Regions from separate parts of the Homo sapiens genome. Here region 2 is linked to region 1. The links are contacts of gene promoters, found by promoter capture Hi-C in human tissues and cell types (Jung and others, 2019). All regions are on one chromosome and are shown on one strand. The core of a region is centred on a gene start or on the middle of the fragment in contact, and the rest is flanking DNA. Distances in the headings are between cores, read along the strand shown. Region 1 holds the start of TNFRSF11B (TNF receptor superfamily member 11b). Region 2 overlaps LOC105375723 (a long non-coding RNA gene).

Region 1 (5,732 bases), core at 1,500-3,999:
TCACATATATCTGGTGCCTAGAAACAGAAGGTTAAAGTTACGGAACATTCTGCTTAATGTCACCGATGGCCTCTGCCAATGAGGGATCTGTCACAGGAAGATGAATGTAGTCTTCCAGTTACTGTTCAAATGTCCCCTTTTGGGTTCAGTCTGGAATCCCTGGGTCCATTCCAATTAAATCTTAAAATGAACTTCAGCTCAGAGTGTTCAAAGCCTGCAGCCCACAGTAGTGGATTACTTAGAAATACCCTAGGGGATTGGCCAGATTGCTCCAAGAATATAACAGATGAAATGACTGATAATTCATGGTCTCTGTCAGTTTTCTGTCAGTGAGTGATGAATAAAGGGCCCACAGTTAGGCCCTGAGATGCACAATCAATACACAGTCTATTTTGTGATTCTAGATAAATGGTGCCCCAACCTGTCTCCAGCTTACAGCTAATTACCAATCCCCTGAATCCCCAAATTACCACCATCGCTCCTTTGCAGGGAGAGCCAGAATTTGAGCTAAAAGCTTCAGCGAATACCATAGAAAAATAAGTAGTTCCTGCCCTCAGGAGCTTACAATCTAGATTTGCCTTGTGCTCATACAAACGTCCCCATGAGAACCTCAGATGATAATGACACTTAATGAGCACTATGTGCCGGACACTATTTTTAGTGTTTTACATCTTTTATCTAATTCAATCTTTATAATAACCGTTATGATACTTTGAGGTAGATGTGATTATTATCCTCATTATAGGAATAACAAAAAATGGAAACAAAAATAGGTTAGGCAACTAGTCTGAGGTCACAGAGCTAGGAAAAATTGGAGTTGGGGCTCAAATCTAGGTTACAAAGGCCAGTATCTTAGGTATTCCCCTAGAATAATCATAACTATAGGAAATATTTCCTATGGGCCAGGCATTGTGCTGAGTTATTTTACATGCATTACTTTATTTAATGCTCATAATTAGTGATTACCATCATTTATATAATTGTTTTTTAAACGCTCCCATTTGCTTTCTCTTACGTTTCTGCAATATCAGTGTGTTTTTATCTTATAGATGAGGCTCAGGGAGACGTAAACCTTTCCCAGGGTTAACACTGAAGGACTCAGTTATTGATTAGTTTTCTCCAAGGTCTGACACCCACATATTGGCATCATTTTATGTTCTGAGAAAAACACCTTCAAATAATATCCTAGACAAACATTACTCTAACAAAAACAATAATACTGCTATTTATATTGTGTTTCACTACTAACACTTGGATTGACTTGAGTCCCATGGCAAGTCTAAGTGTTGATATCTCAGGTTGCAGATGTCAAAACTACGATTCAAAATACAAGGAGTGATTTGGAGTCATACAATTTTGTCCACACTCACTGAGCTACATTTATTCACTAGTTCACTTAAGAAACCAGCATGCTGTTACATTCTGGCCCTTGAGGGACAAAGCTGAATGACACCCCGTCTTCTGTAATTTGCAGGATGGAACAGTCTGTGGATCCACTTTGAACTCGTGGTGGAAGGATGTCCCTTGGAAGGGGCAGATGCTCTGATCCTGGTAAGCCATCCTTGCTCCCCAGGGGTCCCCTCTCCTGATTCTTCACCTTCCTTCCCTTGAATCTGGTGAAAGGCAGTATTTGCCCTTCTCTGGAGACATATAACTTGAACACTTGGCCCTGATGGGGAAGCAGCTCTGCAGGGACTTTTTCAGCCATCTGTAAACAATTTCAGTGGCAACCCGCGAACTGTAATCCATGAATGGGACCACACTTTACAAGTCATCAAGTCTAACTTCTAGACCAGGGAATTAATGGGGGAGACAGCGAACCCTAGAGCAAAGTGCCAAACTTCTGTCGATAGCTTGAGGCTAGTGGAAAGACCTCGAGGAGGCTACTCCAGAAGTTCAGCGCGTAGGAAGCTCCGATACCAATAGCCCTTTGATGATGGTGGGGTTGGTGAAGGGAACAGTGCTCCGCAAGGTTATCCCTGCCCCAGGCAGTCCAATTTTCACTCTGCAGATTCTCTCTGGCTCTAACTACCCCAGATAACAAGGAGTGAATGCAGAATAGCACGGGCTTTAGGGCCAATCAGACATTAGTTAGAAAAATTCCTACTACATGGTTTATGTAAACTTGAAGATGAATGATTGCGAACTCCCCGAAAAGGGCTCAGACAATGCCATGCATAAAGAGGGGCCCTGTAATTTGAGGTTTCAGAACCCGAAGTGAAGGGGTCAGGCAGCCGGGTACGGCGGAAACTCACAGCTTTCGCCCAGCGAGAGGACAAAGGTCTGGGACACACTCCAACTGCGTCCGGATCTTGGCTGGATCGGACTCTCAGGGTGGAGGAGACACAAGCACAGCAGCTGCCCAGCGTGTGCCCAGCCCTCCCACCGCTGGTCCCGGCTGCCAGGAGGCTGGCCGCTGGCGGGAAGGGGCCGGGAAACCTCAGAGCCCCGCGGAGACAGCAGCCGCCTTGTTCCTCAGCCCGGTGGCTTTTTTTTCCCCTGCTCTCCCAGGGGCCAGACACCACCGCCCCACCCCTCACGCCCCACCTCCCTGGGGGATCCTTTCCGCCCCAGCCCTGAAAGCGTTAACCCTGGAGCTTTCTGCACACCCCCCGACCGCTCCCGCCCAAGCTTCCTAAAAAAGAAAGGTGCAAAGTTTGGTCCAGGATAGAAAAATGACTGATCAAAGGCAGGCGATACTTCCTGTTGCCGGGACGCTATATATAACGTGATGAGCGCACGGGCTGCGGAGACGCACCGGAGCGCTCGCCCAGCCGCCGCCTCCAAGCCCCTGAGGTTTCCGGGGACCACAATGAACAACTTGCTGTGCTGCGCGCTCGTGGTAAGTCCCTGGGCCAGCCGACGGGTGCCCGGCGCCTGGGGAGGCTGCTGCCACCTGGTCTCCCAACCTCCCAGCGGACCGGCGGGGAGAAGGCTCCACTCGCTCCCTCCCAGGAGAGGCTTGGGGTTAGGCTGGAGCAGGAAACCGCTTTCAAGTTATGCCATGCTTCCCCTAGGGTGTCCTTTTACGCTGCAAAGTTCCTGCTGACTTTATGGAAGACAGCAAGAGAGAGACAGACAGCGAGAGAGAGGGAGAGAGAGAGAGAGAGAGAAACTTGTTTGAAAGTTTTAGTCATTAACCTTCTGTCTTCATCTCAGAATATTAACGCCCTCATGTAGTCCATACTATCTTTGCTTAATGAACTTGAACTTTTATTATTAGTGGCAAAGAAGTGGTCCCTTAGATTCAGAGTAAGTTGGAAGAAGACGTTAGTCTTCTTAAAACCATTATAATTAGAATATGACATGATAGATTTTTCTAATGTAAATATTATGTGAAATTTTGAATAATTAGGAGAAAAGATCTCTCACACACACACTTCTTAACTGTGTAATGTTTTAATAAAATTTTATTGTTAAAATTATTTCACTTCTCAACTTCAATATACTGTGGAGAATATTGGCAGTATGTTATGTTCTAAAACATATCTAAAGAATTGAAGTTCACTAAATAGGGCTAAAAATTGTGTTTAAAATGTTATTTGGAAAAGAAAGGAATCTCTGTGACTTAGCTTTTTTTTTAAGCTTAGGTTTTGATCAAGTTAATAAGATTTGCATGTAGGTTTTTCTATGACCAATGACTTATTTTCTCTATGACACTAGAGTGTAGAGTACATCAAGATATGAATCAGACATTTATGCAAGGCTAGGAAAAGCCATATTTAAGCCACATATGTGTTTTGGATGTGTTTGAGTAAATGTTTGAACTTCAACCTCCAACCCACAAATAATGAATAGAAGGCTAGGTAGTCTTCTACTTAGTTCCTAGGATACAGAAACATAAATAAGTAAATAAATAGTAAAGACACTAAAGAACAGGTAAGTTGGATAGGAATCTACCCATAAGTATGTTAAAATATATATGTATGTATGTGTGTGTGTGTATAACTTCATCGCTAGAGATACTATGGAGTGCTTTTAAAAAAGTAAACCTTTATTAAAATATAACACATAGAGAATTGTGCAAGTGGTAAGTGCCTAATGCAGTTTTTCTAAGTGAGCACTTGTGAGCTAGCACACAGATCAAGAAATATATTATCGGCACCTCAAGAGCTTCCATCACTACTGTGTCTATGGCCAGAACAATCAGTATTCTGATTTGAACAACATAGATGAATTTTGCTTGTATTTGAACTTCCTATAAATGGAACTTATTCAATTTTTTGCATTTGACTTCTTTCACTGAAAGTTCTGTTGTGAGATTCATCTCTACTGTAGGATATAGAATAATTTGTCCGTTGTCATTGCTGTATGGTATTCCATTGTATGGACACACCACAATTGATTTAATCATCCTAGTTTTGGGCTAGTATAAATAATGCTGCCGTTAATATGGGGACATTTTTATTCTTCCTAGCCCTTTTTATTTTGTCAAAGATTTAATTAATAACAAACATACTAGCAATGAGTTAAATTTCAGGGTTTCCACTAAATAATATATGTTTCTATTTAGAAGTATCCATAAATTTAAATAGTAAAATATTTTTATATGTGGTCTGTACAGGAAGATAGACAAACATGTAGATAATACTAATTTTAGATGATACAGCATTATCAGAAGATAAGACTTCGTATATGTCTTGAACACAGTAAATACTTTATATAGGAAGAATTTTGCTTCCCCTTTCTTTAGCTTCTGAGACTTACTTTATTTTGAAAATGATTGCAAATGGACACTTTGTATTTACACATAGAGTCCAGATGCCCTTTTGTAAAACCAAGGTGCCACTGTAGGAACTAGAAGCACCACAGATATTTATTTCTTTATAATGGGCATTCCACTGGCACTAGGCATCAGGACAGTGTGAAAAGCAAGATAGACACTATTCCTTTCACCATGGACCCATAGTCTAATGGAGAAAGCAGATATTGGGCAAGTAATTGTGTATATAGAGTTGCAAAGAAAGAAACTACTGGGTGACTTGGGAATATAAAAGATTCTGCCATATAGCACCTTATAAGGGAAGCTGCTAGTGCAGTGTTATCATGTGGACCAAAAATCAAATACCAGTACCACCACTTACCTGAGAAATGACTGTGGCCAAGTTACTTCTTGAGTTTTAGTTTTGTCTTCTATAAAATGATAATAATGATATGCATATATCCAAGATGCCCACATAAAGTTTCTGCTTCATATCAACACTAGCTCCTAGCATGATGCTCACAGATAACTAACTTTAGGACAATCTAGATCCAAGTGAATTATGTAAACGAAGTGCTGATGATACTCAGAGGAGGGAGAGATGGCCATCTACCGTCATCCTGGAGGAGGGGTATGACGTTTCATTGTTGGAGATTTAAAATCAGGCATCTTGGACCAAAGAAGTGAGAGAAGGCAAGATTGTGTAGCAAAATAGAATTCTAGATTCTTTTTGTGAGTGCAAAGGGTATGCTGGTAGGCAAGCAGGGAAGGAGGTAGGGATGGGATGTTGTCATTAGTACTAATGTCATAGACATGGGCTTTCCTGGAATGTTCCTTAATGCAGTTAAGCAGAGGCCTGCTCTGCTTCACTCAGGCTTAGGTTTTAACTGATGGCTGAAACTTCCCATCAAGTAGTATCGGAACCATCCATTGAACTTCTCAAAGCTAAGTTCTGAATTAATGTTATGATACTAGGAGTTGGGGTGGAGAAGTGGGCAGGGAGGGGTAGATTTATTTTTTTCTCAGGAAA
Region 2 (5,732 bases), core at 1,405-3,904, 110 kb after region 1:
TAGTACCTATCTCATCAGATGTAGGTTTTTCTGTTATTATGTTCAATTACTGTTGTGATAAAATCATTGGTACCTCATAGTGCTTTTGTAAGGATTGAATTAAATAATATATATGCAGTGTCTTGTACATAGATGCTCAGTAAATTTTTGTTGTTATGGCTATAATGTCTTAGTGCCATGTATCAGGATTAAAAGCTAAACAAGTTCAGGACACTATTTCTTATTTTTATTTTTATTAACAGGAAGAGAGTCCTCTTATTTGCCTCTGTCCCTTCACCACTGTCAACACTATGCCTGTTTAACATTTTGTCATAAAATATGGACTAATCTGGTTTCAAGACAGCAAAGATGACCTAAGCCTCATTTTCTCCAAACACTTTTCTGACAGCAGCTTCCAAGAGACAACAAAGAACAAAGGTAGCAAAGAAAACAGGCATGAATAGAATTTACAAAGAAAGAGTTTGCTCAATATAAGGAAGATCTCTCTAATAACCAGAGCTTTCAAAATACAGAATGGGCAGCCACAAACTGGTAGAATCTTATGGTTGAGAAGGACTTCAGAAGATATTTCTTCAGTTGTCCTCTAGGGTTTGAATTCTTTTTACACAACTTCATTTCTTCCTACATCATCCTCATTCTACTGCCTTCTCAATTGATAGAAAACCCACTCACTCCCCAAGGATGCCGTCTCATTTTGAGAAAGATTTTCAGGTTTGGCAAACATTTTTCGTAAAGGGTCAGATAGCAAATAGTTTTGACTTTGTGGGCCATGGACAGTCTCCACTGCAACTTCTATTGCTGCTACTTCATCAAAAACACTTTAAAAGTATAAAAACCATGCCTCACTAACAGTCCATACAACAACAGGCCGTGGGCAAAATCCCACCTGACAGAGTTTGCTAACTTCTACTCCAAACTGTGATAATTCTTCCCAATATTAAGTGAAAAGCTAACCACTATTGGCTTAATACTTAATGCCTCTTAATTTTAAGGCAAAACGTAACCCCTCTAAATGTTTCCAACTCTTAGTCCTCATTAAGTATAAGCAAATATAGTATAATGTATCCTTAAACTTCTACTACAAGTTTATTATTGTAACAACTCTTTGAGATATATGCAGTGATTTTCACAATTTCCAGACAGGAAAATGGAAACCTAAAGATGTTAGGTAAGTTACTCAAAGCTACATAATTAGTTGGCTGGGGTGGGGTGGGATAGGATGCAGGATACACAACCTAGATCTTCAAGAAGCTCTTTCTACTCTGAGGTTCCATGTCCACCGCCAGGGAAACACGAAGACATCACAGCCCTCTTATGATGGCAAATCCCAAAACAGCTGCCAAAACTCACAAAATATTCTCTTCTCCATGTTAAATATCATCTGTTTCCTGTTGCTCAAATAACCACCATAGTGTTCCTTCTCCTTTAAGTAGGGGTTTTCAAGTGTGTTCCCTCCTTAGTAGCTGCAGCCAGTATTGATCTTTCTTCTTCTTAATGATAAATATATTTTTGCTCCATACCTAGGATATAGGATATGGATTTACGGAGACAGTCATTTGGGTATAGGTTTATAATAATTATTCAATTCTATCTGACTGCCTTTTTAATGTGCAAGGCACATATATTCAAAGCTTATTGTGTTGAGTCTTTTTTTTTTTTTTTTTTTTTTTTTTTGAGACGGAGTCTCGCTCTGTCGCCCAGGCTGGAGTGCAGTGGCACGACGTCTGCTAACTGCAAGCTCCGCCTCCCGGGTTCACGCCATTTTACTGCCTCAGCCTCCCGAATAGCTGGGACTACAGGCGCCTGCCACCGCGCCCGGCTAATTTTTTTGTATTTTTAGTAGAGACAGGGTTTCACTGTGTTAGCCAGGATGGTCTCGATATCCTGACCTCGTGATCCGCCTGCCTCGGCCTCCCAAAGTGCTGGGATTTCAGGCGTGAGCCACCGCGCCCGGCCTGTGTTCAGTCTTAATTGTTGTGTTTTGCCTGTGTAAATTTTTTATCCCCTAAATTAATGTAAATTCTTTTAGAGGTACAATGGGAAAAAACAAAACCACCTTCTAATTATGAACAATTACTCAAAAGATGGATAATAGATCCTTAAATTTCCACCATTTCCAAACCAAAAAAATCTGGAGAATGCCATGCATGGTAGGCAGCCTCTGAGATACCCCCTAGGGATCCCCAATTCTCAGCACATTGCTGACTCATGCCGTTGTGTAATCCTCTCTCTTTTAGTATGGGCTGGACCTTAGTGATGGCTTTTCACAAATAAAATAGGGACAACATGACGTGATGTCACTTCCAAGACTGGTTACAAAAAGACTTGCTGGCTGTCTTGTCTCTGTCTCTGTCTTTCTCTCTTCTATTTTTTCCTCACTTGTTCTGACGGAGCCAACTGTCCTGATGTGAGCTTCCCTGTGGAAAGGTCCACAGCATGAAATTGAGGCCGGCATCTGGCCAAAACCTAGCAAGGAACAGAGGCCGCTAGTCCAACAGCCTGCAAGAAAATGAATCCTGCCAACACCCACATGAGCGAGCTTAGAAAGGGACTCCTTCTAAGTCAAGCTTTGACACAACAGCAGCTCCTGACACCTTGAGCAGAGCCTTGTGCAAAATGCTAAGTTGAAGTCTAGGCCATGTCTTGATTGTTGACTCTCAAAAACTGTAAGACTAAGAAATGATTGTTGGTTGAAGTCGCTATGTTTCAGCCATTTGTTACACAGCAATAGGTAGCTAATATGATAAGTATTTTGTCTTACCAAAAGGTAATGAGACTGCTTGGTGGGCAACAAGATTCCTTTTGGGGAGAAGATGTGGTAGAACAAGATAAAGATATGGTTCCACAATCTTGTGAATGTACTACATAACATTGAACTGTAAATTTTAAAGTGATTAATTTTATGTTCTATGAATTTCACCTCAATAATTTTTTAAAGGAAGCAGCACAAGACATAAACAAAGAAGGAAGGAAAAAAATAAGAAGATAAAGGAAAAAACAAAAGTTTACTTAAGAACGCCTTCAAGAAAACAATCCATCACAATAAATGAAAACTATGATCAAAATTCAGCACCAAGTTACTTAACCTAATGAATCTATCAACTTACAAATGTGAGCAAATGTAGAGAGCCCAGGGCTCAGTAAGGAGAGAACAAGATGACAAAAGGAGCTGAAATGTGTGTCACAGCACTCAGTAAATGAAGCAGAAACTATAAAAATGTTTTACTGTGAGAAAAGAAAATAAGACAAGGGACATAAAGTAGCTGTTTCTCAATAAATAATTCTAAAACAATTTAACCCTTTAAATTATGTGAGTATATAATTTGATTCAAAAGTAAAACATTAAATAGCAAAAATAAGATAATGAAGGTATTTTGATTTTAAAATCTCAATAAACTGCAGGTAGATTCTGAACTTGTTTTTTTGTTGTTCTTTAATGTACCAAAGGCCACTAAGGTACAATCTGAAATCAATAATTCAATTAACAAACAGAAACCAGAACTTCTGCTTGTAATAAGGTAAGGTGTTATATTTAGTATGGGAAGAGACAATTGTTTAAATTATTTTACAATTAGGAAATTATGTATTTGTCATGCAACATATTTAGACTATACTGTGTCTGAGACTTCATGTTTGCTTCTAGGAAATGTATATGGTCTTGTACTTAATGTCAAAGCCAGCCACCCTCTCGCCGTCCCTCTTGTTGTTCTTTTAGATCAGTGGTTCTTTTTTTTTTTTTTGAGACGGAGTCTTGCTCTGTCCCCCAGACTGGAGTGCAGTGGCGTGATCTTAGCTCACTGCAAGCTCCGCCTCCCGGGTTCACGCTATTCTCCTGCCTCAGCCTCCTGAGTAGCTGGGACTACAGGTGCCCGCCACCAGCTAATTTTTTGTATTTTTAGTAGAGATGGGGTTTCACCGTGTTAGCCAGGATGGTCTCGATCTCCTGACCTCGTGATCTGCCCGCCTCGGCCTCCCAAAGTACTGGGATTACAGGCGTGAGCCAGCGCACCCGGCCAGAACAGTGGTTCTTAACTGTGGCCTGGGGGGCTTAAAAAATTCATGGTTCTACCCTCAGAAATTCTGATTTGGTTGGCTTGAAATGTGGCCTGGGCATTGGATAGGAATTGACCTTTGTTCTAAACAGAATGGAGAAATAGAACAAGCCTGTGTTTCAGATTAGAAAATGCCAGAATTTAGGAAATGCATTGCTGAGGATTACTCTGTTTCAATATATCCTGCAAATGTGACAATAAACACTACGGCCAAAAAGATGTGTGTAAATAATGGGTGGTGGAAGGTGGAGGGTAAAGACTCAGAGTGGACAGGTTGAATGACAGGGACATACAGTAGGATAATAAGGCAAGTTGGTGTGTCCATGTAGAACCTTACCAGTGAAAGAGATATTTTATGGAGCATTATTTTTAAAGTGTCCACAACCTATGTGCGCAGCCATGTCAGGTCACTTACTATTTTTTCCTGTTTAACATTGTCACTGTGTTTAGTTAACCCCAACTCATCAATATGGTCTGATATACCCATGAAACCTTAGATGCGGCTGCTGCAGGGGAATATGGAGCAATGGAGAGCAATGTGGCTGGCTCACCTTGACTTCCTTATTAACAGCCACTTGGAGGGGCTGCCTCCTAACAAAACAGACATGGTTAGGAGTTCCAGGGGCTGACCACTGGTGAAGTGACCCCTGGCCCAAAATTGAATTAAAGGAAGATGGAATTGAAGGCCATAATACAAACTCTATTGTTAACTGAGATAAATTTGATCATGCAAACTCTTAACCTTGGTTGGAGATTAGACAATCCACCACAATTTTGCCATCCAGTTGTGATCAAATTTTGCAACACAGACATATTTATTAAAGTTTTATTTTATGCAAGCACAAAAAGGTTTTACACAACTGGTTCTGTAAGCACAAAGAAGTCTCAGCTCTCTGTCTTTTTTTAAGTGTTGCAACCATACATTGTATAAAAGGTCACTTGGGGAAACCACAACATTTTTCTGGAAGGAGTATTCTGTCATCCTACAGTGACTAAACCCAAGACAATTTAGAAATCAAGGTGTAAACATCCAACCTAGGCTCCAAGTCTCAGTTATTATGCCGATTTCACACAAAAGTAGGGTGTATCTTTCAAATATTTTAGCCAATCCACTCATATTGAATGGAAATTTAATCAATTTATTTCAACAAGAGAGTATATTTCTATCATCAATTTATGTTAATTAGCAAAGATTCTGAATAACAGAAGCACTTATACTAGATGCCTCTGAAATATAGGCTTCCCCAAAATAATGTCAGATTTGTATTTAACTGTAATTCCTGATTGGATAGTTATCTATACCTGGGTAAAATTTTATACAATACACACATAATGTTTTACATAACAAGTCATCAAACCTACTCTCTTTCCCTTGATACATTAAAGCTGAATGCATCCTGAAAGAAATAGTTCTGACAGGACCTTAAAATGTAAATAAATGTATATATCTTTTTCTCCCCCATCCCAGATACTCGCAGACAGAAACTTGTACTATAGTGTAAGGTACACACTATGTGCTATTCTTAGCCTATTTTGCATTGTTTTAAAGAAATACCTGGCCAGGCATGGTGGCTCACACTTGTAATCCCAGCAGTTTGAGAGGCCAATGTGGGAGGATAACTTGAGCCCAGGAGTTTGAGACCAGCCTGGGCGCTATGGTAAAATTCCATCTCTACAACA

Evidence for each region. Contacts are between HindIII fragments. The study calls those that stand out against the background at their distance.
Region 2: a contact is called between a fragment that was not itself captured here and the fragment with the promoter of TNFRSF11B in region 1, in 2 of the 25 tissues and cell types used here (lymphoblastoid cells and mesenchymal stem cells).

What each region holds. Positions count from the first base shown.
Region 1 is chr8:118,948,902-118,954,633 of GRCh38, reverse strand. TNFRSF11B (TNF receptor superfamily member 11b) reads left to right here and starts at 2,749. Exons shown (of 5, transcript NM_002546.4): 1 at 2,749-2,842. The coding sequence starts at 2,813. It also overlaps a transcript of COLEC10 not described here. The HindIII fragment of the contact is 2,925 bases long and covers 184-3,108 here.
Region 2 is chr8:118,843,146-118,848,877 of GRCh38, reverse strand. The region is part of intron 1 of LOC105375723 (a long non-coding RNA gene); the gene reads left to right. Among named protein-coding and RNA genes, the nearest start is that of TNFRSF11B, 110 kb to the left of the region's middle. The HindIII fragment of the contact is 4,724 bases long and covers 293-5,016 here.